Regions from separate parts of the Homo sapiens genome. Here regions 2, 3 and 4 are each linked to region 1. Evidence: promoter capture Hi-C in 16 types of primary human blood cells and fetal thymus (Javierre and others, 2016). All regions are on one chromosome and are shown on one strand. The core of a region is centred on a gene start or on the middle of the fragment in contact, and the rest is flanking DNA. Distances in the headings are between cores, read along the strand shown.

Region 1 (7,638 bases), core at 2,226-4,725:
AAAAATGCGTGATGTTTGTGGTGCCTGTCAGATTGTCAAAATGTGTAATTTGTTGTGCTTTCTTTATCTTTCTAAATAAATAGTCATTTTAGCACCTAATTTTGTAGTTATAATTTGATACTTTTTTCCTTCAAGAGGGTCCTGCAAATTGTATAAACTTTACTCTCCTCCCAAAGCCTAGATCCACCCCTGCCTATGTAGTAGGAATTATTAACAACTCTATATTGCAGATGATGAAACTGAGACCCAGAGAGGTTAAGTGACTTGCCCAGGTACACACAGGCAGTAAGTGATGGGGTCCAGATATGAGCCCAGGCAGTCCGGCACCACATGGAGTACTCAACCAGAATACATTATTGCCTCTTATTATTTTCACATAAAGCTCCTAGCAAACTCCCTGAGACATTGGGACATTACAGATACTCAATAACTGGTGGCTTTTACTATTTTGTCAATCTAAAACTGCTTTGATAATAATGGGAATATAACTCTATCTTTAAAGACACCATATAAATTTAAGCTAACAAAACAGATAAGTCTGTAGCAGACAGTTTTTATACAAGGGATTTTCTTTTAAATACTAATTTCCCAAAATATCCTTTAAAAATACTACTATTCAAAGTGTGCGGCTAGGCACAGTGGCTTATGCCTGTAATCCCAGCACTTTGGGAGGCCAGGGCAGGTGGATCACTTGAGCTCAGGAGTTTGAGACCAGCCTGGCCAACGTGATGTATTTTTGTCTCTATTAAAAATACAAAAATTAGCCAGGCATGGTGGAGTGCACCTGTAATCCCATCTGCTTGGGAGGCTGAGGCATGAGAATCACTTGAACCCAGGAGCCAGAGGTTGCAGAGAGCAGAGAGCCTGCCACTGCACTCCAGCCTGGGCGACACAGCGAGATTCCGTCTCAAAAAAAAAAAAAAAACTAAAATGTGTTCCATGGACCACCTGCATCAGAATCATCTGCGCCCCATCCCAAACCCAATGGATCTAAACCAATGGAAGTGGAACTCAGGAAGCTGAATGTTTAATGAACACCCCAAGTGACTTTTTCCACCCCAAGGGTGAAAACCACTGCTTTTAGGAGTCATTCCACTATGGGTTACTGAGTACCCACTGTCTACAGATGGGGTGAAGGGTGAGAGGTGAAGGAACTTGAATCTAAGGTGTTACTGGTATATTTCCAATTACAGGTGAATGACAAATAACTGCAATGCAAGTTAATAGTCATATTCAGCTATATTAAAATTTGCATAAGATTTGCATAGACTTACATTTTTCAAATTAAGTTTACATACAATTTTAAAGACCATAATGATTGAGAATAGAGTGCTCATTACATTCCCAGGTTCTGTTCTAAGATTTAAGTATATTAATTGTTTCACTTTTCAAAATCCTAAGTAATTGCATCATCCCCATACAGAGATAGAGGCTCACAAACGTTAAGTAACTCCTCAGTAAGTGCAGAGCCAAGATTTGAACCCAGAATTCTGGTGCTAAAGCCTATGCTCTCAAACCCTATATCACAAAAACTAAATATAAAAAAGAACGGATTAGGGATAAAAGGTAAAATTGCAAGTTCATAGAACTTTATACCTTGGATTTTTTTTCCTGATTTAGTCATTTTCAAGATAAATAAATATTGTGCTGGGTTGAAGACAGCATGAAATCACTAAAAGAGGTCAAGCCATGTTTTTTTATGACAGCAAGTCCATAGACTGTGAAGCCTACTTGAACTTGGTATATGCTAGAGTTTAAACAGCCTTCCTAGTTCAGACACAGAATCTTTGTTTCAGTCCATCCCACACTGTCCTGTCTCCACACCCCCAAAAAAGTTTCAAGATCTTTACCCTAAATTCCTTCACTCAGCATGTCAGCAGCATGAGTCTAAGACCATGGCCAGCATTAAGTGCTGACAGTGTTTTAAGCACTTGGGTGTCATAATGCATTCAGTCCTCACAACCCTATCATTTCTCCACATTTCACAGAAGAGGAATATAAGGCCGAAAGGCACTTGATCAGGGTCCCAGAGCTGATAAGTGACAGAATCAAGAATCAAGTGGTCCCAGACATCCTGGTACCAAGCCCATGCCTTCAGCCATCTACTAAAACATCTCCCAGTTATTGAGCGTCCACTGTATACCAGGTGCTTAACACAAATTAGCTGAGTCCTTGCAAGTTTGCTCAAAAAGAGCCGCATTCCCTGCCCTGACCAACGAGGACATGAAGGCTCTGAGAGATTAAAGGGCTTGCCCGGAACACACAACTAAAGCCCAGCCTGTCTCTGCATCCAAAGCCTGCACTTTTCCAACATCACTACGATGCCTCCTGGGATTTTATTAGCTACTCCCCCCCTAGAAGGAAGTATCATTACTACCACTTTACTGTTAAGCACATTCACAGGACAGAGAACATGAAGATAACTGTCTTCATATTTAGGCAGTTGGGCTTCAAAACTGCTCTTCAAAACAGGGGCTGGAAAAGGGAGAAAAGGTCCGCCTACTTGTATCTTCCTCCCACCGTGCACAAACACGCTGGAAGCTAAACGGCTTAAATATTTAAATGGCATGTGTGTGAAAGCACTTCTACTTTGTGACAGGGCCATGTTGCACATTAGCTCTCAATGCTATTTGTGTGAACCCGCTTCATACTTTTTAAAGACAAAAATGCTCTATTCATCATTTTATTGACATTTCATATTTGCAGGTTTTATTCGCCTGCGAGGTTAAGACATTTGAAACACAAATCCTGACAAACGCACAGACCAGCAACTCGAGGAACTCAGACGCTTTGGCTCTCGGTGCCACCTTTAAATGCTAAACCACCGGTAGGTAGTCGCTAAATGGGAAAGTCGTGTTCTCCCGGTTTTCAGGTGGGAAAAGCTGAGGCTCCCAGGAGTCTAGAACTCCTCTCATATTGCCTTTCTCCCTGGATCAACTGGGAATGATGATAACAGCAGACTGCCCCCCACGCGTGATAAGGAAAAAACCTTGTAATTATAATAACTTTTGGAGCTACCTCAGAAATTAACAACGACGAACAGAAATCTGCGCAATCAACAGGAGCCAAGAAGAAAAACTCGGCTCCGCAGGACAAGTCCCGGGCACAGTTCTGCAGGAAGCCTCAGGCCAGATCAGGCACCGCGGCTCACACAGAGGTGACGCACGAGTGACCCACAGAGAGGGACCCCTGGGCCTCTGGTGGGGGCCTGGGAGACGGTCGAAGGGGGCCCGGGCAGAAGCTCCGCGGCCGGGCCGGCGGAGGGAAGGGGGCGGCCGCGCCCGGGACCCGGCTCCCCTCGGCTCCACTTACCTGCTCCGAAGAGTGGCCCCAGCTCTGCGCCTCTTCCTGCGACCCCACACACAGGGACAGCCCCAGGCACAGCCCCAGCAGCAGGAGCATGGCGGGGCGAGGGCGCGGGACGCTCGGGGACCCGGCGGGACACGCTTTGCAGCGCCCAGGGCTCCAGCCACTGCGGGACGCTCTCGGGGCCGCCCACCCCGCGGTCCCAGCCCGGACCCCGCCCACCCCACGGACCCAGCCCGGACCCCGCCCACCCCGCGGTCCCAGCCCGGACCCCGCCCACCCCACGGACCCAGCCCGGACCCCGCCCACCCCACGGACCCAGCCCGGACCCCGCCCACCCTGCGGTCCCCTCCTGGACTCCGCCCACCCCACGGACCCAGCCCGGACCCCGCCCACCCCACGGACCCAGCCCGGACCCCGCCCACCCCGCGTCCCAGCCCGGACCCCGCCCACCCCACGGACCCAGCCCGGACCCCGCCCACCCTGCGTCCCCTCCTGGACTCCGCCTACCCCGGTCCCAGCCCGGACCCCTTCCACCCCGCGGTCCCCTTCTGGACTCCAACTCTCCCACCCCAGCCCAGACCCCACTTCCCCGCCCCAGACCTTCCCACACCCTGCCTCCCTGGACACCCCCCAAGCCCGGCCTCGCCTCCCTGTCCCCAGTCAGGACCCAGCTTCCCCAGGTCCCCAACCCCAAGCTCCGTTTCTCCACGCCCCCATTTCCCCCCACCTCCCCAGTCCCGGCCCCACCTCTCCTGTCCCTGTCCCCACCGAGGCCAACTTCCCAGACCCCACCTACAGCCACCCCCTTAAACCCGGCCCGCCTCCCTGTGGCCCCCACACCAGCCCCGCCTCCTCCCCAGTCCCCACCCCGCCCGGCGCCGCTTCCCGGCCTCAGTCCCACCAGAGCCGCGCCTCCAGCCCCCAGTGCTGGGCTAGCTCTGTTCGGGGAGAAGGCATTCCAAGCCTGCCTCGCCGCGCACAGCAGGGGCCACCTGTGTTGGCCCCACGGACCCCTCCCACACCCTCCCATCCTGCGGCTGTGACACTTAACCAAGGACCAGTCTCCTCTGTAGAGCCTCCTACTCCGTTTCTTGCCAACACCCACTGCCTCCCGGGCCCTACCCCACGCGCCCCCGCAACTCTTTCTTCCTCTCCCTCAAGGTGCAATATGCTTCTTTGCGGACTTGCTTAATTTCTGTCGCCAGAGGACGCGAGAAGGCCAGCCTGGTCCTCAGCACACAGCCCACCCCGCACCTGCCAGCCTGAAGCCGGCAGATCGTCCCCTCTGCATTGGCCAGGGACGCTTAATAGGCAGGACAAAGGATACTACCTGCAGTCTAGCGCAGGAGGGACTAGCAAGGCTGCCAGCCTTTATGTTCTAAGGAAACAGAGGAGACGAGGGAAGTATCTTGGTAGCGTGTAGTATTTCTGAGTTTCTGGTTATTAATCATGTAAGTGAGTGCCAGTATGTATCTTAGTTACAAACTATTGGTGATACTTCCATCCTGCCATTGGAAGAATTCTTACCCACCAGCCGTCCACACCTGGCCTTCTACAGGCTGAGTGCGTCTTTTTTATCTGGTGATACACATTGCAGTTGGGGCTACTTGTTTATTTCATGTTGCAAAGGATGTTTTTTATGTCTCTGTGATAATTTCATCTAAATAGGTGAGGTGAGTGACAGACCCTTTAAGGACCAAGAACAGGGAAGGGGCTAACTTCGGACCATGGAATAGAGAATACTATTCCATGCAGGTTACTATGGGGCCATTAAATAATCGTGCGACGTCTCCAGAAACATGGAGAATGTTGACAGTGTAATCTAAAGAGAAAATCACATCACCAAATCGTATCAACAGTATGATTGCAATTAGGTAGAAATACATATGGAGGGACATAACTAGAAAAAAAAAACATGAAAAATAAAAGCAGTGGGTAGGTTAGTTTGTGGTGAGATCCTCGAAAATATCTATTCTTGTTGAAATGCTCTTTGTTTAATGAATTAGGAGAGGTTAAAAACAAACACCTTGCTACTGTGAAATAAATGAAAGGAAAATTATTGTCATCAGCAGTTAATCCTTTAATAGCCTAACCACTAGTCAGCATGCAACCAATAAGAAACAACTGTAGCCGGTTATTTTTCCCTCCAGAGGAAAGTAACTATTTGTGAACCAGAAGTTGAATTGGACAAAGCCAGTTTATTTGCAATAGGGAACCATACAGCGGCCATTATTTCAACCCATGATTGCAACAGAACAGAGACTCCATCGTCTTTCCTTCCCTGCCATCCCTAACTTGAAATGCTGAAAGGGCCCATATTAAACTATTTTTGCCTTTATATCTGATCTCTTTTTTTTTCCCAAATTCATACTAACTGGGTTTTACAGCAGTCTAATGTTAAGAAAAGTGAGTTTTATTTTCATCTGGGAGGACCCTCTGATTCTACCCTAGACTGTGGTTCTAATGTGTTGTTTGTTTAATATAAAGCCAGTTTCTCCAACTGGATCTGTTCTTTGAGGACAAGCCTCTCCCCCAACTTCTAGAACTGTGCTAAATATATTGTTAGCACTTAAGGACCTTTTGATGAATGAGATTAGTAGATGGGAGGAATGAGTGTGGATGGTAGAGCCAGGCTGTGCCAGGGAGGTGGGGCTGGGCTATAGTGCAAACTTGACCGCTACCTAGCTGTATGACTTGACAGAGTTTCTGAACTTCCTATTATTTTCAAGCTGTAATAGTTCAGTATTCTATGTGACACCTGTGTATCTCTATGATGATCTTTAAAATCTAGGTAGGTGTGATAAAAATAAGACCTAGTGAAAGTTTTCCAAGACTGTCAACAAGCAAAGACAGTGATTTATATCAGCCTTATAAATAAGGGCCAAGGTGTCCCCACATACATTTGTCCTTTGATTCCATGTTTCTCATTTTACCTCCAGGAGGAGCTGAATTTCCAGTTACTGAACACATAAAATCTCAAAGCTAGAAAAGACCCTGCACGATGTCTAGCTCAATTCATTCACCAGGACCATGTGCCACGAGTGACAAATCACAGGGAAGGCCCCCGGGGTTCACGGACAGGATCTAGAGGCAGAGCTCAGCGACAAGGGACTCAGAGTCCAAGAATGAACAGGAGCTGTTTCTCCTGGGCCAGAGATGCTGCTCTGTCCACGCCACTTCTAGGAAATCATTCCCTCAAGTAACTGAATGATGGGCCAAAGTATTCCAGAATTGTCGAATCACACTTGTGAGAGTTATCCCTTTATCCTGGTCTCCTACTGGAGACTACCAATAGATGGGCCCAAAATCATGGTCAAAACAACCATGACTTAACGAGATTAACGAGTTGAAAGCAGGCTGCCTGTTTGTTTTCTTTTAAACCTCTCCCTTGATTTTACATCCTGACACCCCATAGCTCCTAAATCTAGCTATGGTTAGAGTTAAGCCACCACCCAGTTCTTTGGTCTCCACCTCCTCTCCCTCTCTCATCCTCCCTTCTGAGCCTCTGTAAGGCCATTGTTCTATTTGGGACAGCTCTTTCTCCCCATCCTTGGTCTACTCCTTTTTTATCTACTTATATGGCCTTGTGTGTTTCTCTTGGCCCCCTGACAACTGTGTAGAATCGCTACAGGTTTTTACAACCTTGGCTTTTTTTTTTTCTTGATTAGAGGGGACTACTAGGGAGGAAATGGGTTCCTTTTGACTTTGACTTGATGATTTCTCGGGAGCCCAGTTATAGCGTGTCAGGAGTCTAGTTATACCTACTTTTCATCTGCTTCACCAAACACTGAGTTTTGTCCACAGAGATTTGTGAAGGAAGAAATAGGGAATGCAGTTTTCTAATATATGATTGGTGATTGCTGAACTCAACTGTTCACAAAGTGTAACACTTACCATATTTTAATTATTGGCTTGCAGATTTGAGACCTAAATTAGACTCTGATTTCTTCATGGTCAAGGATTCTATCATTCTTGTTTTGACATCCTCAGGCTCTGACACATGGCCTGGAATAGAGTAGACGTGCTGTATGCTTGATGAATGAATGAAAAAATGTATATCTGCCATTATGTTACCCTGTGCTAGTTGTGTGTAATATGACAAGTTTTAGACAGACTCCGTGACCTTGAAGAAGTTACCATTTAGATATGAAGATGGAGCTAACAAAATGGACAAAATTTGAACTCAGTAGTGATTTCCTAAGAGGAGAAGGGACAAGATTGTGATTGTATTTGTGGTCTGGAAGGCTTCATGAAGGACGTGGAAATTAATATTTGCATGAATTTGATTTTGAAAGCCAAGTGGAGAAGAGAAAACATTAAGGAGACAGA
Region 2 (7,638 bases), core at 1,342-3,841, 810 kb before region 1:
AGTTTATACAACAAAGCAAAGAACTTAAAACACCGAAAACAGTTTTGAAGAAAAAAAAAATCAGAGAACTTGTTGTACCTAATTTCAAGACTTACAGAAAAGCACAGAAATCAAGGAAGGTATTGGTAAAAGAAGAGACTTTCTAGCTCAATGGATCTGAATAGAGATTCCAGAAATAGACCTACACATACATGGTCAGTTATTTTTTGACAATGGTGCCATTTAATGGGCAAAAGATAGCCATTTCAACAAATTATACCAGAACAATTGTTCATCCATATGCCAAAAATAAAATTTATATGAAAAAAGTGAAATTTACACTATATAAAATTAACTTGAAACAGATCACCTAAATATAAGACCTACAACTATAAAACCTCTAGAAGAAAATACAGAAGAAAATTATTGAGACCTTGGCAAATAAATCTTAAGACACAAAAGAAAAATTCTGCTGATCATTTTTAGACATTTAGCGTGTCATCTGATTTCTCAACAGCAGCACTGAGAGTTGGAAGGCAATGGCATAATATGCTGAAAGAACATGATAACTGTCAACCAGATTTATATCCTCAGTGAGAATATTTTTAGGAATGAGAGCTATACCTATTTCCAGACAAAATAAAACAGAAATTTGCCACCGAAAAAAGAAAAAATCATAAAAGAAGCAATTGATTAACTGGACTTCATCAAAATTAAAAACTTCTGCTCTTTGAAACAGACTGTTATTAAAAAAAAAAGTAAGCTGCAGGCTGTCATTCAGGCTGGAATGCAGTGTGCAATCATGGGCCCCTGGGCTTAAGTGATCCTCCTGCCTCAGCCTCCTGAGTAGCTAGAAATAAAGGCCCAAGCCACTGCACCTGGCTAATATTTTTTTAAAAAATTTATAGAGATAGGGTCTTGCTATCTTGCCCAGCCTGGTCTCAAACACCTGGTTTCAAGCCATTCTCTCACTTTGGCCTCCCGCAGTGCTGGCATTCCAGGCATAAGCCACCACACTGGGCCTCTACTCTACTTTTCGATGTTTAGGTATGTTTAGATACACAAATACCTACCATTGTGTTAACAATTGCCCGTATATTCAGTAGAATCACATGCTGTACAGGTTTGTAGCCTAGGAAAAAAGTATGGCACACTGTTCAGTAAAAATTTGCAGGGTAAAATAAGCGAATAAAATCCCACTTTGTTGTTGTTGTTGTTTTCTATTATCCAAGAGAACTTTGAAATAGCTCCAGAAAACATATTTCTTATTCCAAACACATTCATCTTCATTTCGAAAGTAAAAAAACTAAAATACTAACTCAGAGAAAAATCAAATGTTTAATTTTGGAAAGTATAAAAATTTACCAAGATTATTAACAAGTAGTTACATACTTGATTTAAAATGCATGTTGTCCTTTAAGCTGCACAGACCAAAGAAGTCTTTTCCAAGCTTCTTGGTGCAGAACTATGCTGACTCAACTGAGTACTCACCCAGGCTTGGGGTCAATTCAAACCTTCCTTTAATTAAAAAAAAAAAATTTCTCCCTCCCTGAAGCAAGCTTCCTTCCATGCTGCTACTGTTATGTGAAGATGGAGCAGCCTCTTTCCAAAAATCCCATAAATCAGCAGCTCTTAGATTTCATGGCATCATGTTGATATTGCTTCTTGACTCTCTAAGGTTTAGCATTTTTTGATCACCTTTTCTTCTAAGAAAGAATCTCAGCTTTTTGGTAGTAAGTTGAGAGTTAAACTTCCGATTGACAGCTACTTAACTCATGTCCAAAAATGTTGAGATAAATGGTAGTTGAGACAGTCCAAGGAACAAGTTGAACTTTGTCATTAGATACTTGTGTCAAGCAGAGCATGAGAATGTAAACTCCTTGGTTTAAAATGATTTGGTCCTCATAGAAGCCCTTTCCCTGAACAAAGATTCAGGACCATGCTCTCAGCTCTTACCAAAGGCTGGTATAAGAAAAACCTTCGTGAAGTGCAGTTATTTATTATTTTTAAGTAAAGTTTATTTTTTCCGTATATGAGTAATTCATACTCATTATAGACAAATTGGAAAAATACAGAAAAGCAAAAGGAAGAAAAATTTTAAGATAGTCCCATTCCCCAAAACAATATGGTTCATTTCCACTCTCTCTTTGTTCTATGAAATTATTTTTAAAATCTTCCGGTAAGATAATAAACATAATTTACAAAGCATATGTTTTCTGGGAAAATAGTTCTGAGGACATGGTTTATGTTATGTCCCTAATAAGAGTCTACAGGATTTCTTGATAGAATATAAAATTGTCTCTTATAGCAAGTCAATATGGTTTCTTTTATCACACAAACTGCATAGAGCATTATCTTATTTCTCTATTATACTGGGTAACAAGAAATTCAGACAATTTCGTGCTCATTTTTAGTAATGTTCTCCCCTAATCTTCCTCTTCCCCCTCTCTTTCCATGTGAGTTCTGTTTTCTCTTTTATCTTTATTTTATCTACCATGCATATAAAATATAAATGAGCCCCTTTTTGTAAAAATCACTTACCAACTCCCTTTTGAGGAAAGTAAGACGCAAATAAATAGATTGGCAGTCTGGGAGAAGCACAGTAACTCTTTTACTTTTATTCTGGTGAAAATGCAAAGAATAAAACCTAATATTCACCAGAGGAGAAGGGACACACAGGGTGAGACAGAAAAACATACAGGGGCTGGGGACGGTGGCTCACGCTGTAATCAGAGCACTTTGGGGGCCAAGGTGGGCAGATCACTTAATGTCAGGAGTTTGAGATCAACCTGGCCAACATGGTGAAATCCCGTCTCTACTAAAAATACAAAATTTGTCAGGTGTGGTGGTGTGTTCCTGTATTCCCAGCTACTCAGGAGGCTGAGGCAGGAGAATTCCTTGATCCCGGGAGGTGGAGGTTGCAGTGAGCTGAGACAGCCTCACTGCACTCAGCCTGGGCCACAGAGCGAGACTCCATCTCAAATATATATATATATATATATATATATATTTTTTTTTTTTTTTTTGAGACATGGAGTGTCTACAAACTACAAAATTCAACCATAACACTAAGATCTTGCTGGGTACAAAAATGTACACACACAAAAATAAAATAATAAATGTGATGCACGGAAGATAAGCAGACTAATGTTTATTGGGATAATTTCGCTTACTAACCATGCTATATCCTGTTATCACTCACCTCAAACCCTACTGTCATCTAAAAGGGGAATCCCTTTCCTTGTAGGTGAAAAGGGATTCTCCTTTTATATGGCAGTAGGGTTTGAATGCATTCTTGGTTATTCTGAATGCACTCAAAATATCAAACTGTAGCCGTTTTGTTGCTCGTGAGTATCTCATGCTACTGTTGCCCTGAAAAGTCCATGCAGTATGGAGATGCTGAAGGGAACTCAGGCCACTTCGACAGGTCAGTTATATGGTAAGGTGGGAATGGGCAGAGAACGGGGATGACGTGGAAAATAATATAAATTTTAAAGACTCTAAGGGTAAAACTATTAAAAAGAGAAAATTCACAAGTTTGGAAAATAAAAAGGGAAATGAGTTTAATGCAAGTCATGGAATCTACTGGACTATCCTCTGCGAGAAGATTTAGGACGTTAGCTCATGGTTGTTGAGCTGGGACTGGCTCTGCAGAGAAGAGAGGAAGAAGCTTGGGATACTGTTGGAAGATTAGGGAGATCCTGGGAAGGCCGAGTGTGTTTTGATAAATGCAGTTTCAGCCTCACACATTGAAAGATCTGAGAAAATACAATAAATTGATAATATAATAGTAAAGATAATAGTCATAAAAATGACAGTGTTTTGCAATTAATGTGCTGCCTTTGTATTTGCTAACATTATTAAACCTTCAAAATCCTGATTGAGTAGGTGGAGCATATTATTATTATCCCCATTTTCAATATCAGGAAGTGAAGCTCATCGTTGGCCAAATGGCTTACCTGAAGTCACACAGTAAGTGACAGTATACCTCTCAGAAAATGTCCCAACAGGGAGGGAAAAAGCATGGCACACTGTTTAGTAAATATATGTAGGATGAAATGAATGAATAAAATCCTACTTTGTTGTTGTTGTTTTTTCTATTTCCATTATCCAAGAGAACTTTGAAATAGCTCCAAAGGCCGGGCACAGTGGCTCATGCCTGCAATCCCAGCACTTTGGAAGGCCGAGGTAGGCACATGACCTGAGGTCAGGCATTTGAGACCAGCCTGGCCAACACGGGGAAACCCCGTCTCTACTAAAAATACAAAACTTAGCTGGGTGAGATGATGTACGCCTGTAATCCCAGCTACTCAGGAGGCTGAGGCAGGAGAATTGCTTGAACCTGGGAGGTGGAGGTTGCAGTGAGCTGACATCGCACCACTGCTCCAGCTTGGGCAAAAAGAGCGAAACTCCGTCTCGGAAAAAAAAAAAAATAGCTTCAGAAAATATATTTCTTATTCTGAGCAAATGCATCTTTATTTCTAAAGAAAACCAACTAAAACACTAACTCAGAAACAAAATCAAATGTTTAATTTTGGAAAGTATAAAAATTCAAAAAAAGAAAACTAATATTACTGATACCCCAGAGATAAGCACAAGTAACAGTTTGGTGTTATCCCTACAGTTGATTTTCTATGTGTTTTTCTGCATGTATTTTTTGAAGTTACATATATCATGCATAAATTTGTTTTTCAGAATTTACAAATATATTGTAAACATTTTACCATCAATAAATGCTACAGCATGATTTTGTCTCTATTATGGTAAAAAACATGCAACATGAGTTCTACCCTCAACAAATATTCAAGTATACAACATAGTATTGTTAACCATGTGTGCACTGTTCTACAGCAAATCTCTAGAACTTTTTCATCATTCATGATCAAAATTCTATACCCATTAAACAGCAACTCCCCATTCGGCCTATCCCCCAGTCCCTGGCAACCACCATGCTATTTTCTGCTTCTAAGAGTTTGGTTACTTTAACTACTTCATATAAGTAGAATCATGTAGTATTTGTCCTCTGACTGGCTTATTTCACTTAATATAATGTCCTCAAGTTTCATCTATGTTGTAGCTACATGACAGAATTTCCTTTTTTCTTAAGGCTGAATAACATCACACACACACACACACACACACACACACACACACACACACACACACAGTGTATTTCCATTATTTTGAATAAATACCCAGAAGTGGGGTTGCTGGATCATATGGGAGTTCTATTTTAAATTTTTTGAGGAGCCTCCATATCTTTTTTTCATAATGGCTGTACCTACCAATTTACATTCCCACCAAGAGTGTACCAGCCTTTCAATTTCTCCACTTCCTTGCTAATATTTGTTATTGTCTCTTTTTGTTTTTTGTTTAAATAATGGTTATCCTGACAGGTGTGAGATAATATCCCACTGTGCTTTTGATTTGCCTTCCCCTGCTGATTAGTGATGCTGAGCACCTTTTCATAGACTGGTGGCCATTTGTATGTCTTTTTTGGAGAAATGTTTGTCCAAATCCTTTGCCTAGTCTTTAACTGGGTTATTTGGTTTTTTGCTATTAAGTTGTAGCGGTTCCTCACATATTTTGGATATTAGTCTCTTATATATATGACTTGCAAATATTCTCTCCAATTCCATAGGATGCCTTTTGCTCTGCTGATTGTTTTCTTTGCTGCACAGAAGCTTTTTGGTTTCATATAGTCCCACTTGTCTGTTTTTGCTTTTTTAACCTCTGATTTTGGTGTCATAGTCAAGAAATCATTGCCAAGACCAGTCGTGTAAGGCACCTCCCCTACATTTTTTTTCTAGGAGTTTTATAGTTATAGCATGATTTTTAAAGACTGCCTAATAACTCATTGGTTGGATCTACCAGAATTTATTTAACTAACATTCAGGTACTAAACATATAAGTTGTTTCTAAGTTTTGGCTAATTTAAACTTTGCTACAATAAACAACTTTGCATCTAAATTTCTTTGCACCTATCCATGCATACTTCCCTAAGATTAAATTCCTATAAATACAAGCGGTAAGCCAAAAGCATTAAACATTCGAAGTCTTTGGATATTTATGGATACAATGTACCCCTTGGCCAATGTTAGAGTATGAAAATATGTAGAATAAATGGCAATGGGGAGGTAGAATAGACTCCACATTCTGTGCCTTATCATATGTACACCACACTTAGAATCCAGATAATTTCAATGGGGAAGAACTGAGGGAGATGCAAAGGAAGCTTATTGGGTTTCACAAAAGCCCACTGGTAAATGACAGAGAACGTGAAAGGCCACATGTCTAATCAGAGACTTTTATTATAGAATAGTATAAAACAAAAAAGCATGTCAAAAAAATAGATAAGGCAACAATAATCACAAAAAATTCCCAGGTCTAATCCATGCGGGAGGGAGCTCAAGGCCAGGACAAGCCACTTGTTGGCAACGATCATAAAATACTCGCACGCAACAGAGAAAAAAGCAAAATTCTTCCTATGTCCCCCTTTTTTTTTTCCTGTTATGACAAATGACCTACAAATGAAAAAGTGTAAGAATATTGGAAGAAGATGTCATTTCAGAGGAGTTTTACTCTTTAGTTTCAGACAGTCTTTCCCAGGGTGGTAGGAAAGGTTATGCAGATGGGTATGAATACATGCTGTTGGCCGTCTTTTGAGAAATAACATAGGTATTATTATTATATTGAGAATAGCTTACGGAGAAGAAGCACTGGACATCTTGATCTGGATATATTCTGAGTAGATATTTTTAAAAAAGGTGGTGGGGGTGAAGGATGGAAACCATCATGACCATAGACTGGTAACCTTGTCATTTCTCCAGGGAAAATACTCAGGCAGAGAATTAAAAGGAGGATTCTGGAGCATTCTTTAGCAAAATAAGTGATTGCCAAGATCATGAGAAATGGATCAGGCTAATGGGGCTACCGCCTCCCTGGCACATGCCCCTGTGTGCACCAGATGCAGCTTCCCCTCTTGAGCTAACACAGCCCTGCAGTCCATGCCAGAGTGGACAACGTCCATCAGAAACGTCCATCAATGTCCATCAGAAAGAGGCACCTGGAAGGTGTCTTTGGGCAGAAATAATCCTCCAACACAGCTGGATTTAAGCTCCCACTGACTGCCTTGGGCAGATGCCCTTGTTTAGAGCTGAGATTCCATCATGCCAAACTAGAACGGTATAGCATTTGTGGTTAAGAGCTTGGCTGTCTGATGGGCTTGGATTAGCTTCAGACCTACCTGTTACTAGCTTAGTGACCTCTTTGTGACATCTTCTGTCCTGTAAAGTTGATGTCTTAATGATGTCTTCCTTGCTGTGCTTGTTTGAGAAGAAAAAGCTAGACCAGCAGGATAAAAGCTCCCATAAATAACATTATGTTTCAATGCAAGGAAGAATGTTCTTTAAAAAGTCACCTGATAAAAACAGAATGGGCTGCCCATGAGATGGTCACAGCCAGGGTACGATGAGGCAGAGTTGGGATGGTTCTTTTCTCGTCTCCTCTAGACTGTGTGTCCTGATTCTAAGAACTTCAGAAAACATTACGTGCATTTTAAAAAGCTGTATGAACATGTGGTGCTGCTGTGAGCAGTGGATGGATTGTGCTGTTTACAGGACAACCCCCACGAGGAAGTAGAATGTTAAAAAAATAAGC
Region 3 (7,638 bases), core at 1,854-4,353, 780 kb before region 1:
TCAATATTTTTACCTGTAATATGAAGATAATGAAACAAATGTCACAGAGTATTACATACTAGTTTCTAACTTTTTTCTTCCTTCGAATCAAAAAAGAAACCACATGTGTTTAAAATATGCACCACTCAACATTCTAAGATGGAAATAGCTTAAAGTACCAAATTTGAGATTGATGTATATTGGGGGATGGAGATTATTAAATTTCCTTGTTCAGATGAAACATAATTAACATAATCAGTTTGGAACTTTTTTCATGCCTAATTCACTTTCTAGTCCAAAAATAATGCTGTGCAAATTATTGGCACGTTGTTTCATTTTCATGCCTAATTTAAAAAAAAAAATCTTTTCCTTGTGCTCAAATGCCTATTTAGTTCCATTTGGGCCATTTTCTTTGAACTAAATGCAAATGAGGGAGGTTGCATGTATTTCATAATCTCCCTTTAATCAAGATCACTATGAAGCATCAGCCCCCTGGGTGACGGGTGACATAAATCATATTAACTTAATTCTGTGTGTTTCATTAAAGGATTTAGTATTTTTATGAACCAGAATATCTGGGTCACTGCCATAGAAGCTTCAATCAAGCTGCAGATCTTATGGAGTCAATGATGTGTTGCTTATTTGATGAGATGAAGATGAAGTGCCTACTCCCATCTCATACTGGCCTCATTAACACATGGTTGCTTTAAGAGTTCATGAGTTTTGGCCAGGTGCGGTGGCTCATGCCTGTAATCCCAGCATTTTGGGAGGCTGAGGCAGGCAGATCACAAGGTCAGGAGATCGAGACCATCCTGGCTAAAAAATACCCCCCCACCAAAAAAAAAAAAAATTAGCCAGGCATGGTGGCAGGCTCCTGTAGTCCCAGCTACTCAGGAGGCTGAGGCAGGAGAATGGCGTGAACCCGGGAGGTGGAGCTAGCAGTGAGCCGAGATTGCGCCAGTGCACTCCAGCCTGGGCAACAGAGTGAGACTCCATCTCAAAAAAAAAAAAAAAGTTCACGAGTTTAGAAGAGACAGTTGGGTCCTGGCCTCAGGAAACAAAGAAGAAATCCAGATCTTATACAATGTGCTGGACATAAAAGTATAACAATTTTTGATTCTCTTCCCCTTCACCATTGAAATCTATGGTTTCTCTATATGACTGTTTTCTCAACAATCCAAAAAGGCAAGGTTGGCAGCATGCAATCTGCTGAAGAATCCTGCCTAAATACCCTTTTCCACTTCACACTATCTACCGTGGAGTCGTTTTGTCTCTATTTTATTCCTGAATGAATAAACTATGACATCCCAAACCTGATCATTTGTCTATACTTCCAGTCAACCACTTCTGCGCAATATCTAAATATTTATGTTTCTTTGTCAAATGACAGGACCAAGAATGTTTCTGTAATATTCATGAGAACAAAGGAGTTGTCAAGAGAAGAATCTTTGCTTCCTGAAGAATGGACATGAAAAAAGCTGGGAAGAAAGATTGGGCCCACAGTTTACAAAGGTTTCAAACATCTAGGTGATTATCCTCGTATGATAGGAGCTTTTGACTGGATTGTATGCAGTTAAAATTGACTGCCCAGCATCACATAAATGCAGTGTTAGAAGGATTTCATAAATTAGGAAATCTGGAAGCATCTGGGAGAGTGGATGGTTCACCTTGGGTGGCAAGAATGGCAGGTATAAGGTTTTCACTGGAAAGTAAGCCTATTACATATACTATTTCCTTTTCTGAAAATCTCCAGGGTCGCTGCTGGACACAGAACTTGGGAATGGGAAGAAACTTCCAGAGCTCTGTCCTCTCGCAGATGATCAGAATATAGGTACACACAGTGTACAGTTTCTCAGGGTTGTTGGTGATACCAGCCCAATTTCCCTATAGAACTGATGTTTGTGGGTTTTTTGAATAAACACAGAAATTCACCCCCTTAAAATTAAAGGTTGAAACTTACATTTGTCTTCTCTGGGTTTTTTTTTTTTTTTTTTTTTTTTTTTAAATGAAGTCTCACTCTGTCACTCAGGCTGAAGTGCAGTGGTATGATCTCTGTTCACTACAACCTCCGCCTCCAGGGTTCAAGTGATTCTCATGCCTCAGCCTCCCAAGTAGCTAGGATTACAGGCATGTGCCACCACACCCTGCTAGTTTTTGCATTTTTAGTAGAGATGGGGTTTCATCATGTTGGCCAGGCTGGTCTCAAACTCCTGACCTCAGGATATCCACCTGCCTCAGCCTCCCAAAGTGCTGGGATTACAGGTGTGAGCCACCAAGCCTGGCCCTTATCTGAGTTCTTTCAGGCCTCCCAGATAGTATCAAGGAACTGAAACTTACCAAATAACCACATCCAGACAATGAGTTGCCAGATCCCTCATCCACCATGACTGCCTAATTGACCACCTGCTTCCTGCTGGCCAACTCCTCCTCCTTATCCTCCCTAATCTCTGTATTCCCACACATAGCTACATTCCTTCCTCGCTAGATAAACCCAAGTTTTGATTGGTTGGGAAGATGGATTTGAAACTCATCTCCTATCTCCTTAGTGATGTCACCTGAACAAAGCCTTTCTTTCCTGGAAATATTCATCTCAGTGATTGCCTTTCTGTGCAGCAAGCAACAAGCCCTAGACGGAACCCCTAGTGTTCAGCATCATTGGCAGTCAGTGCTCACTTCTCCCCAAGAGAAACAACTAACTCCCCCATTCTGAAGAAGCCTAAGAAACAGTCGTCAGCAAGTCACTCGGAAGTGTCCACCATCATCTGGGTTAGGATTCGGATTCTTCTGATAGGGTTTGCAAAGAGCAGATTTATCCACAGGATTTGGCTTCTTGCTTTGCATCATGAACCCCTTCGAGAGTTTTATAAAAAATTTTAGATCCTCTCCCAGAATTTGCACATACATGCAAATATTATTGTTTGCAATAAGCCTCTTACTCCAAGTTAAGACCTTATGACCTAGACTTTGAAAAGCTTTATGTTTTAATGGAAGCTTTGACATTAACAGCAATAAACAGAGGACTTTTGCCCAAAGAAAGCCACTTCTTTGAAGTTAAATGCTGTTATTGTCCTGGTCACTGAAGCAGCAGCTTTGGAGACATATTGGAAAGCTCAGGTTCTTCATGAGTCCAGAGTCACTTCCAGAAATAAACAATGCTTATTCTGAAACTTATCTCCTATCTCCTTAGTGATGTCACCCGAACAAAGCCTTCTGGGACCAGTGGTTCTCACCCCTTGGCTATGTATAAGAATTCTAGCGAAGCTTTTCCAAATTATACATGCCCAAGAAGACACACACACTTCACAATATCAAAACTTAACAACAAACTACAGTAATCAGTATTGTTCTGGCATAAGGACAGACATGTAGACGATGAAATAATATTGAAAGTCCAGAAGTAATCTCTTATATTTATGGTCAGTTGATCTTTGATGAAGGTACAAGAATCGATTTTTTAACAAATAGTGCTGGGACAACTGGATATTCTCCTTGAAGATAAAGAGATAATGTCTGCATTCTGGGGAGAGTGTCAGCCATGTGCACTTTCACTTTTGCTTCTGTTTTAGTCAACTTCCATGGGGACTCTTATATTCCAGCTTTGGTTGAGATCCATGCTACAAGGTCAATTTATGATAGTTGATGTTTTCATTTGCATCTTTTTTCTAGCTCTCATTTTTTCTAACATGGTTAGGAAATAGGATGTTTCTGTTCATTGAACACTCTAGACAGTAGCTGGCTGCCACTGATGGTGCCAGTGCAGTGTGAAGGCATTAAAATGGCATCTGAGGCAGTGGGGAGAGAGAGGAACACATGGCTTCAGAATCCAACAGAACCCTCATCAATTTGCGGCTCTACCAGTTACTGTATGTCACCTGGAGGAAATGATTTAAACTCTTCAAACTGCAACTTATCTATCCACAAAACAGGAAGCAAAGTGTATCTGCTGGTGTTTTGCAAGGTCTCTATGAGATAAATGTTTTCTTAGTTAGTTTGTTTTTTTTTGTTGTTGTTGTTGAGACAGGGTCTCGCTCTGTCGCCCAGGCTGGAGTGCAGTGGCATCATCTCGGCTCACTGCAACCTCCATATCCTAGGTTCAAGTGATTCTCCTGCCTCAGCCTCCCAAGTAGCTAAGATTACAGGTGCATGGCACCACGCCTGGCTAATTTTTGTATTTTTCATAGCGACAGGGTTTCACCATGTTGGCCAGGCTGGTCTTGAACTCCTGACCTCAGATGATCTGCTCACTTCTGCCTGCCAAAGTGCTGGGATTATAGGAACGAGCCACTGCGCCCAGCCGAGGTGAATGTTTAACAGTTCCTTGCATATTATTGCATACAGTTAGTGCTCAATGTACGTCAGCTGCTATTACTGTTGGCATTTGTTGTTGTTCTCATTATTACTACTAAACCAAGGCACTGAGGTGAGAGATCTTATGAGCGATGTGGATTCAGTACAAGGCAAATTAATTAATTTGCCATAATTATAATAGGTCTCCCGACGCTTAAACCTACCACTTTCCCTTAAACTGTTTTCAGCATCCAATTCTTCAGGTCTCCTCTAACACCTTCCAGTTTGCCTTTTACCTTTGAAGGAAATTTGCTTGGCCTTTGAATTGAGTCCACCCAGGCCCTCACCAGTGACAGGATCTTAGGCATGCTCTGTGACCTCTGTGTCAAACCTTCTCCTCTGAAAGCTGGAAATGACTTCTTAGTGCCGTCCTCCTAAAGATGCTTATACAGAAGGAATGCTGTAAAACAGGGGTCCCCAAACCCCATGCCATGGACTGGTACTGGTCTGTGGCCTGTTAGGAACAGGGCCACACAGTAGGAGATGAGCGGTTGGTGAGCAAGCATTACCGCCTGAGCTCCACCTCCTGTCAGATCAGCGGTGGTATTAGATTGTCATAGGAGCGCAAACCCTATTGTGAACTGTGCATGCCAGGGATCTCAGTTGCACGCTCCTTATGAGAATCTATTGCCTGATGACCTGAGGTGAAACAGTTTCATCCTAAAACCATCCCCCCATCCCGATCCGTGGAAATATTACCTTTCATGAGACTGGTCCCTGGTGCCAGAAAGGTTGGGGATTGCTGTCTTAAAAGATATAAACCACTCAGAGCTAGGCCTGGTGTGCAGTGATTTGTGGCTGTTGTTTTCATTATTTTTGGCTATTGGAGATTTGGAAACAATTGATCTTTTCTGTCATGAATTTTCACTTTCTAGTTTTTCATGAAATTGACTTTATTCAATTATAAAACCATAGAGCTCTAGAACAAGCTTGTCCAACCCGCAGCCTGCAGGACACATGCTGTGCGGGACAGCTTTGAATGCAGCCCAATTCAAATTCCTAAACTTTCTTAAAACATTCTGAGATTTTTTGGTGGTTTTGCTTTTTAGCTCATCAACTATCGTTAGTGTCAGTATATTTTGTGTGTGACCCAAGACAATTCTTCTTCTTCCAATGTGGCCCAGGGAAGCCAAAAGTAGGGACACCCTTGCTGTAGAACATTAAGCTCTAGGGACCTTTGCGAGACTTTAGTTCAACTCCTCACTTTGCAGTGGAAAAATCAAAGGTGAGAAGTTCCCTGGGGCTGCAATGCAGAGCCAAAAAAATGAATGCAACATTGTGAACAGGTTCCCTCAAGAGAGCCCCCATCCCCCATCAACCCACACATTCAGGTCCTGCTGATTTTTCCCTTCTTTTTGGCCTGAGTATTAATATACATATCTTTTTAAATGTTAAGCTAAAAATGAGGACATCACCCATTTTTGCTTTGCTTTGTCCTTGGTTCTATTTAATGTCTTCAAATCTCTAATTTTTTTTTTTTTTATGTTTTCATCTTTATTTGTTATAAAGCTTTTTTTAAAGGAAATTTTTGTAATGTATGTAATTGTTCACTGTTTTACTCTTTTCTCCTTTCTTTAGAACCTGTCAAAGCCAAAATATCATTTGGGGCTATGCCAGATGTTTTCCCACCAGGTCAGAAAGGTAAACGTATTTTTGTTCAACTGGATTAACTGGAAAGAAGATAATTAAAACACATATATAATATATAGTATTTGATGATATATAGTAATCTTATATAATAATATATATTATTTTAGTAATAAATTATTTAACCTTAAAATATTATTAAGTCTTTAACTAACCTTGATAATAATGGTTTGTATGATTCATTGCTTGTCAGAGTTACTAGCCAAGTCATTTATAGTCCAATGTTTATACTTAATAAACCAATTCAATTCTTAGTAAATGCTCATATTAGTGGTTGGCATTTTTGAGTTGAAAAACCTATGTTTAAGTTTCAATTCTACTGCCTGTCTGACTTTTAGGGGAAGACATCAGAATCTCAGTTTCATCGTCCTCAAATATGAAATAACAACAATAATAACACTAATAATCATACCTATCTCTAGAGTTTCAATATCATAACCATGGCTTTGTGTACATACAGACTGATTGTTCCCCAAGATACTCCCTATCCACCCTCATCACCCCAACCTCCAAAATATACACCAGTGAACTCAAACAGCAACAAAAAGAGCCCTAGGGTCTACACAAGTCATATCCAGGTTTGAATGAAAACATTCTTGCCACTTTTTTCATACAATAGCTTATATTTCTGTTTTGAAGAAACATATGAACTTTTGAAGGGAAAGGTGACAAGATATCCACAGCCTTTCTGAGACATAATGGGGTGTAATTGTTGGTGAAGCGGAACCTCTTGCGAAGGAGATAGTTATTCTACCCTAGGCCTCTTGTGGCAGAAAACCTTCATATTGACTCAACTACAAATGATAAAGAATGAGACAGAGGGAGAACAGTCTGACCTGAAAAGATAATCAACCTAGAAATCCAGAAACAGAAAGGCCCAGGAGAGGGATTAAGAATGCAGCCAAATCTCTTCTTAATTTTGTTAATCAGACATTTGTCAGCACAGGGCACTTTGCAAGTGTCGAAAAATCAAAGCTTGTGAATAGGGCCTGGGCCCCATCTTATTACTTTCTGTATCACTGGGGAACATTTCTCAAGTTGGCCTCCTAAAAGGCATTTGGGTTTCTGTCTCATGTATGAATATAATTATTTCTGTCATGATGAATAATTTAAGCCGTCATTCCCAACTCCACCCTCAGACCACTCTTAGATTTCAATAATAGGAGATACACTGCTCTGTAATGTAACAGCTTCTCTGATTTATGGACCTGGGAGGAAATGTAATGAAAGCAAAAATGTTTCCCCCAACTTCCATGCCAAAATTATTGGTTGGTTATCACTGATTTTTCCCAGTATAGAATCATAGAACGTTAGCACTGAATGTGTCCTTAGATAACTACAGATGAGAAAGATGAAGCATGTGGTCAGGGCATAAAGCTACTAAACAGAGTGGAGTTTTAGACATAGGTTTGTCTGTCTCCTGGTAGAATTACTTACTTTCTTTGCACCACTCTAATATTGAGACAATGTTGCATTATAAAAGTTATTGAGATCAGGCACAGTGGCTCATGGTTGGAATCCCAGCATTTTGGGAGGCTGAGGAGGGTGGATCACATGAGCCCAGGAGTTCGAGGCTGCAGTGAGCTGTGATCGCACCGCAGCACTCCAGCCTGTGCAGCAGAGTGACACGCTGTCTCTAATTAATTAATTAATTTTAAAAAGTCA
Region 4 (7,638 bases), core at 1,691-4,190, 760 kb before region 1:
GGACTGTGATGAGGTTTTCTTTCTCTTTCTCCAGTTTATTTGCATGTTTCCCTTTATTTCAAATGCACACGTAATGTTTTTGTAAAGACAAAATTAGAAGTGTATGTTGTTATAGCAATTATTGTTCTTAAAAGGTAAAGTAAAGGGTAGCCTGAGAGGCGAGGTGCTGTGTGGAACATTATTAAGGTAAGCACTGGGGTGTGACAGAGGCTTGGACTTTAGTCTCTGTCATGGACAGATACTAGACCCAGGTGGGGAGCCCTTTTTGGCTTCCTTCATTGCCATCTGACTTCCTACTACTTCAGGCCCTCATGATATGAATTATTTTATGCCTTTTCTCAACCTATGGACTCTTCTTGATAAATCAACTTTGAAAGAAAGCTGCTGCAGGGACAGCAACCAACATTAATGATGACAGTCAAGTGAATTTGGCGAAATGATTTCATTTCCTGGGAACGTACACTCCTCCACGATACTTTAAACTCCATGAAGGGAACAACTATCTACCATAAAATATAAGAGCCTGACACCTTCAGCTGGTATAAGGTGGTCCTTGGCAGAGCTCAGCACGCGGTGGATAACAGCACTTAAACATTCACCGCAATAAAATACTCTTGTTGGAATTCCTTGAGACCTTTTCAAATGCCTCATGGCCAAATACCCAGCAAGTATCCTTGAAATAATTTGAGCACTAGAACTGAGAATTGATGTGTAAATGACGCATGGCTGCTAACAGCCACGTGAGGTCTTAGAAGGAAAGGTTAAAAGAATTCGGTTAATTACCTTGGTGGGAAGAAAGTTGAAGAGAAATTTAATAGCTATCATTAAGAATCTGAAATATTATTATAAATAGATTGTTTCCGAACCATTCTCAATTTCCACAGAGAGCAAAGCTTTTGGAGCAGCAAGAAGTCAAATAAGACATTGGTAAAGAACTTTCTGATTCAGCACTGGAACAGGCTACCAAGAGATGAAGTATTCATTCCTGGAAACCTTTCAGAATAGCATAGACAACTCACTGTTCAATTAACCTGGATCTAGCCCTGAATCAAAGAATTAAACAAATGCTCCTTGTGTTTCCTTCCCATATTAGGGAGGTGTAATTCTATCTTAACTAGAAAGTCACTCCATCAAAAGAATGCCAGAGAATTCACTGAAGTGGCCACAAAGGGCTTCATGTTAATTTTTTAATGACGTGTAAGAATGATATTCATTAAATTTAAAAAGCTTTATACATTGTGGAAGTGACACAGGATTTTTCTCAGCCCCTTTGCTGGACTCGCAGCAGGGGCATCCCATCTACTTGGCCTGCTGCACTCAGCCCCTTGCAGGAGGGAGCATGTGAGCAAGCAAGTTTGGGATCTGGCCGGCCACTCCAAGCACCAACACAGGAGCAAGCTCCATACAGGGCCTGTGACCAGACCAGGCATGTCACCTTGAGAGGGTGCTTGTGACCCTGAAGCCCCAGAGGGGGTGTGTGTGTGCTAATTAGCTCTTTTAGTGCCTCTATCCACAGCCTGATGGACGGCAGCATGTTAGCAGCTCAGCTGGTCCCTGGCCCTACTGTGTGGGGTGGCTGCCCTCTGCCAGTGAGGGCAAAAGGCCAGTGTGACAGCCTTTCTGGGTACCTGCACTTGGTGGGTCCCGAGCTCTTGTCCAGCATCCAAGAAGAATGAGGATACATGACAATTGAAGAGTGAGCAAGGCAGGGAGTTTTACTGAGTGATGAAACAGCCTTCCATGGAGAGGAGACATGGGGATGATCCCCCTAACTGAAGGCAGGAAAGTCCCCCCAGTGTGGCTGAGTCCGGGGGTTTATGGCCTCAGAATAGGGGAGGGGGCAGGCCGCAGATAGTATTGGAAAAGGCAACATTTGATTGGTTAGAAGGCATTATTCAGAAAGAATCAACCAGGAAAGTGGGGGCAAACAGGAACAGAAGTTCTCACACTGGGTTGTGGGTTTCATCCAGGACCAGCAGTCTGGTCTTCCAGCCTTCAGGCTGTTTTTTGGCTTGAAGGTGGGGTTTCACTGGGGACCCACCCCTGTCTGCCTGGGCATTTGGCTGCCTCCTGTTGCTATCAGAAGTTGTGCATGTCTAGCCTTAAAAAATTGCAGCCAATGGAAACACTGCCTATTGCAATGAAATGTAAAACAAATTATATAAACTTTGCACCCTGGAAAAAACTTTCAAGGCATTCTATCATCTACCATCAACCATGCAAATGTCTAAACTTATGCGAACTGTCAAGCAATAAATTGGAAGGATCTGTGTGCTTTTTTATAGAGATGTAGTCTTCCTTGGCCCTACCCACAAACAATAAAAAAAGTTAAGGAAATTAATGTATTTTCCCAAATTATTTGAAAATGTCACTCTTTGTTCAGAACTGCTAAGACCTAAGGTCCAATTAGGTCCCAGTAGTCGAAATGTTAAATCACAACAAAGCCACTTAAGGGGATATTAACAACACCTTGCTGAAATTCCACATTGAAACAGGCTGGTAGTGCATTCGGTTTAAATGACCTCAGTTGATTTAGGACTCAGTTTGCAACAATGGTCCCCAAAGCTTCAGCTATGAATGCTTGTCTTGTGGGGTTTTCCTGCAGCTTTCCAAACCTTTCCCTCAGGGCTGCAAATTTTAGGCATAAAGCTCAGGCTTAGAAGTGAGACTCAAGGGTCTAGAGGCTTTTTTTTTTTTTTCCCTCCTCCGTGGACTTGAGGAAAGCAAGTCACTAGCAAACTTTTGTTTCTCAGTCAAATTCCAGCTCCCAGAGCAATAATTAACAATTAGCATTGGCACCAAAATAAAACACCAGTATCTTTTGGCCAAGAGGCAAAGACAACACATTAGGCATTTAGCATCAGTTAATGAATAATTATTAATTAATCAAGTCTCAAATAAATAGCCATCTTTAGTTTTGCCAGAGACTATTTACTTTCAAATTATTCCCTCATTACCAGTAACAAGCAATTTGAGGGGCTGTACTATGGCATCAATTTTATTAATGCCACATTGGAAAGACAATCATAACAATAAAACAGCACACAGCTGTTAGAAGGGTTTTTCTATATGTATTAATCATGTATTCATAATAGATTTTAATATTCTACATCATAAACTGCAGTGTTTTAAATATAGGATGGGCAAAAAGATGAGGCAGTAATGAATTCATCACACTTACCGATTCTTATAATAAAGTCTTAAAGAACATCTCCCTATATTTTGCAAAGATATCTAGCGTTGTGTAAACCATTGTTACCAAAATATTATTGTTAAACAATATTATTAATTATAATTTACAAAACTGCTAAATAAGAAGCTTAGCAATATATTTCTTCATAGTTTATGGATCTCCTTGAAAAGGAAATGCTTTTCCCAATTTGGTTCTGGGTAAAGATGGGCAGTAAGCAGTTTCAACAGTAGCTATCTCAGCTAATTATGGATTATATTGGGCAAACTCTTAATATTTTTGTTTTAGTGTTGAAAAGAGAAGACTCTAGGATATAGGGCTCAGCTACAAGAAAATCAGAACAGAGAAAGCAGCAAAGAGATTGGTTGCACATTTGTAAAATCAACTTGTAAAAATCTCAATAGATGTACAAAATAAATGTAAAAGAACAGTGTTTTTGGCCAGATGCAATGGCTCATGCCTGTAATCACAGCACTTTGGGAGGCCAAGAGGGTGGATCACTTGAGGTCAGGAGTTTAAGACCAGCCTGGCCAACATGGTGAAACCTTGTCTCTACTAAAAATACAAAAATTGGCTGGTCATGGTGGCTCACGCCTGTAATCCCAGCACTTTGGGAGGCTGAGGCAGGCGAATCACAAAGTCAGGAGTTGGAGACCATCCTGGCTAACATGGTGAAACCCCGTCTCTACTAAAGATACAAAAAACTTAGCCGGGCATGCTGGCAGGTCCCTGTAATCCCAGCTGCTCAGGAGGCTGAGGCGGGAGAATGGCGTGAACCTGGGAGGCAGAGCTTGCAGTGAGCCGAGTTTGCGCCACTGCACTCTAGCCTGGGCGACAGAGCAAGACTCCGTCTCAAAAACAAAACAAAACAAAACAAAAAATTACCCAGGCGTGATGGTGAGTGCCTATAATCCAAGCTACTCAGGAGGCTGAGGCAGGAGAAATGCTTAAACCCAGGAGGTGGACGTTGCAGTGAGCCAAGATCACGCCTTCACACTCCAGCCTGGGCGACAGAGCAAGACTCTGTCAAAAAAAAAAAAAAAAAAAGAACAGTGTTTTTACAAAGAACTCCACTAGAAATCCTAAAAACTCTCTTTGTGCCCTTGGCTATATGTTCAAATGTTGATACAGAATTAACTAGCAGGAAAACACATCTTACCCAAGAAAATGACAGGAGGATATATTGGAAAGAGGGCAAACTTTGTAATTCAACTGGACCAAAGTTCAAATTCCAGTTCTATGAATGTGGGAAATTCACTCCGTAAACCTCGTTGCTCATCTGTAAAATGGGTCAATAAGGTATATTTGCAAGGTTATAGTGAGGAATAATTTACACAAATTATGTAAAATGCAAGGTTTACAGTAGGTACTCAATTAATATTGCAAATATATCTAAAAAAATATGCTGTGGGTAGTGATAGTAAGGAGAAAACCTAACAAGGAAATCTCTCATTCAAGCTTCCTATTTAGGACAGTCCAATTCAGTGAGAATCTTGCACAGGCCGCACATTACTCAAAATCTCTCCTTTTCTCACAAATGCTTCTACAGGACTCTGTTGGGTAAGAACTTGCGTTTGTTTTATGTATTACAATGAGGAAAGCAGAAAGGAAAGGATATTCCAAAGAAAAAAAATTAAGTTATTTCAAGCTAATAAGAAAACTGGACAGGACAAAATCTGCAAGGCCCTGCGTTACAATCTTTCCCAACAGGCACGCCCCCCTACCCTGGTGAAAAACGTCATATTTGTGGAAATTAAGTGAATATTTATAAACATAAAAACCCAAGCTTCCCAGAGGTGATTTTTGTGTTTTCCAAGCGATACCAGAAAAATTTGGAAAAGATGGATCTTCTCAATGAAGAAATGAATAAGGACACGGTAAGGATATGATTTGGACAAAGAAAGACAGGCTGATGTCAGTTCCCCTCCCTGCCTCTGATTCCAACTCTGAATTTTTCCCTCCTGATCTCACAACTATTTTTTGCAGTTTACTTGTATGTTACATGCTTATTATTGCAGGGGGCGGAAAACTTTTTCTCTACCCTCTTGGGTTTAGTAACTGGAGCCCTAAAAAGTAAACCTGCAAAAGACAGATTAACAGGAGGGAAAGAGTTATTTTATGTGCATATGGAAGGCCTCACAGAAATCAAGTGAAACCCCAAAGAGGCAGTGAGAACTGGAGGCTTATATACCACTCTAACAAAGGGCTGTAATTTGTGCAGACATGACAATTACAAAGGAACGGGAGTTTTGAGCTTCCAGGATAATTTGTGGGAAGGTAAATATATGGGGGAAACTAACGGAAGATAAAAGTTGTTTATTAAGGTTTTGTTTGTGTATACTTATCTCAGTGCTCTCTCCAGTAGTAAGATTCCTTCTCCTCTTCCTGGTATGGGAAAGAGGAGTGGGGATACCATCTCAAAGGGAAATTTATGTCCTGCTTTCAGGTAAATAGGGACAAGGCAGAGGGCTTTTTTTGGTGTCTGCTTGTTCTTATTGTCTACAACTTAAAATAATCTTTATGCCAAAGTGGAGGAATATAGTAAATATTTTCGGTTTTTCAGACCATACAATCTCTGTTCAACTCTGCCATTGTAGTGGAAAGCAGTCATAGACAATATGTAAATAAATGGGCATATCTGTTTTCCGGTAGTCTTATTTACAAAAGCAGGTGCTAGGCTAGATTTGGCCCTGTTCAAGGGGTTTGTTAATTTCAATCATCCTGACAGATCCACTAGTTTCAGATACCTTAATGTATTATAATCTTCTGTTACTAATATTAAATATTTCAAAAATTAAATACTACTGCTTTTGTGTTTCATATTGAAATATTATGTTATTTTGAATAATTTTTGGAAATATGAAAAATACAAAATTGATTAAAAACAAATCGATAGAATATTTTCATAATTATTTATTCCTTCTTCCTCCTGCATATTCCATTGTTCTTTTTAATTTTCATTAACTTTTGTATGTGCTCAAGAATTTTTGATCTTAAAATAAACATTTTTAATGTCTCATCCTTTTCAGCTACCTCTGTACTTTTCTCTAACTTTGAAAACATTTTTATTACCATCTCATCACTTCCAAATTCAGCCCAATCTTTCCCTTGAGCTCCAGATTTGCATATCCAGCGGTCTAGTTAACTACTTTTTATATCTCAAAAGTAGCTCAAATGTCCCCACCAACCACCCAATCTCTCTGGTCACAACTAGGAGTCACAGTTGATACCACTCTCTTCTTCAACCCCTTCCTCTACTAATTCGTAAATATATCCTTTTGATTTTTTTCCCAAATTACTTCTCAAGTACGTCCAGCTCTTTCCATTTTCTCCATTCCAACCATACTCTCAGCTAGTACATTTCTTGCCTAGACTGCTACAATAATCTTCCAATTCATCTATCACCTTCCTTTACTCTGGTTCTGTCCAATCTATGCTTAAGATTAAGAGGAGTCTTTTCAGGCCAGATGTGGTGGCTCACACCTGTAATCCCAGCACTTTGGGAGGCCAAGGTGGGTGGGTCACTTGAAGACAGGCATTAGGAGACCAGCCTGGGCAACACAGCAAAACCCTGTCTCTACAAAAAATATAAAAATTTGCCAGGCATGGTGGCAAACACCTGTGGTCCCAGCTACTTGGGAGGCTGAGGTGGGAAGATGGCTTGAGCCTGGGAGGTGGAGGTTGTAGCGAGCTGGGATTGCACCACTGCACCCCAGCCTGGATGACAGATCAAAAGTCTGTCTCAAAAAAAAAAAAGAAAAAAAGAAAAAGAAAAAGAAAAAAATAGTCTTTTCAAAATACAAATTAGGTCTTAAAATTTGCTTGCTTAAAACTCTCTGTTGGCTAACAGAGCCCTCAGAAATAACGCCGCATATCTACAACTATCTGATCTTTGACAAACCTGAGAAAAACAAGCAACGGGGAAAGGATTCCCTATTTAATAAATGGTGCTGGGAAAACTGGCTAGCCATATGTAGAAAGCTGAAACTGGATCCCTTCCTTACACCTTATACAAAAATTAATTCAAGATGGATTAAAGACTTAAACGTTAGACCTAAAACCATAAAAACCCTAGAAGAAAACCTAGGCATTACCATTCAGGACATAGGCATGGGCAAGGATTTCATGTCTAAAACACCAAAAGCAATGGCAACAAAAGCCAAAATTGACAAATGGGATCTCATTAAACTAAAGAGCTTCTGCACAGCAAAAGAAACTACCATCAGAGTGAACAGGCAACCTACAAAATGGGAGAAAATTTTCACAACCTACTCATCTGACAAAGGGCTAATATCCAGAATCTACAATGAACTCAAACAAATTTACAAGAAAAAAACAACCCCATCAAAAAGTGGGTGAAGGACATGAACAGACACTTCTCAAAAGAAGACATTTATGCAGCCAAAAAAACACATGAAAAAATGCTCATCATCACTGGCCATCAGAGA

Evidence for each region. Contacts are between HindIII fragments. The CHiCAGO score rates a contact against its expected background, and 5 or more counts as called.
Region 2: a contact is called between a fragment that was not itself captured here and the fragment with the promoter of ITIH5 in region 1, in 1 of 17 cell types (neutrophils). The highest score is 5.4, in neutrophils.
Region 3: a contact is called between a fragment that was not itself captured here and the fragment with the promoter of ITIH5 in region 1, in 1 of 17 cell types (total CD8 T cells). The highest score is 5.8, in total CD8 T cells.
Region 4: a contact is called between a fragment that was not itself captured here and the fragment with the promoter of ITIH5 in region 1, in 2 of 17 cell types (naive CD8 T cells and naive CD4 T cells). The highest score is 5.8, in naive CD8 T cells.

What each region holds. Positions count from the first base shown.
Region 1 is chr10:7,663,491-7,671,128 of GRCh38, forward strand. It overlaps ITIH5 (inter-alpha-trypsin inhibitor heavy chain 5), which reads right to left and starts at 3,476. Exons shown (of 14, transcript NM_030569.7): 1 at 3,313-3,476. The coding sequence starts at 3,402. The HindIII fragment of the contact is 13,140 bases long and covers 1-7,638 here.
Region 2 is chr10:6,849,739-6,857,376 of GRCh38, forward strand. The region is part of intron 3 of LOC105376387 (a long non-coding RNA gene); the gene reads right to left. Among named protein-coding and RNA genes, the nearest start is that of LINC00707, 74 kb to the left of the region's middle. The HindIII fragment of the contact is 2,111 bases long and covers 1,537-3,647 here.
Region 3 is chr10:6,881,677-6,889,314 of GRCh38, forward strand. All of the region lies in intron 3 of LOC105376387 (a long non-coding RNA gene), which reads right to left. Among named protein-coding and RNA genes, the nearest start is that of LINC00707, 110 kb to the left of the region's middle. The HindIII fragment of the contact is 270 bases long and covers 2,969-3,238 here.
Region 4 is chr10:6,899,278-6,906,915 of GRCh38, forward strand. The region is part of intron 3 of LOC105376387 (a long non-coding RNA gene); the gene reads right to left. Among named protein-coding and RNA genes, the nearest start is that of LINC00707, 120 kb to the left of the region's middle. The HindIII fragment of the contact is 754 bases long and covers 2,564-3,317 here.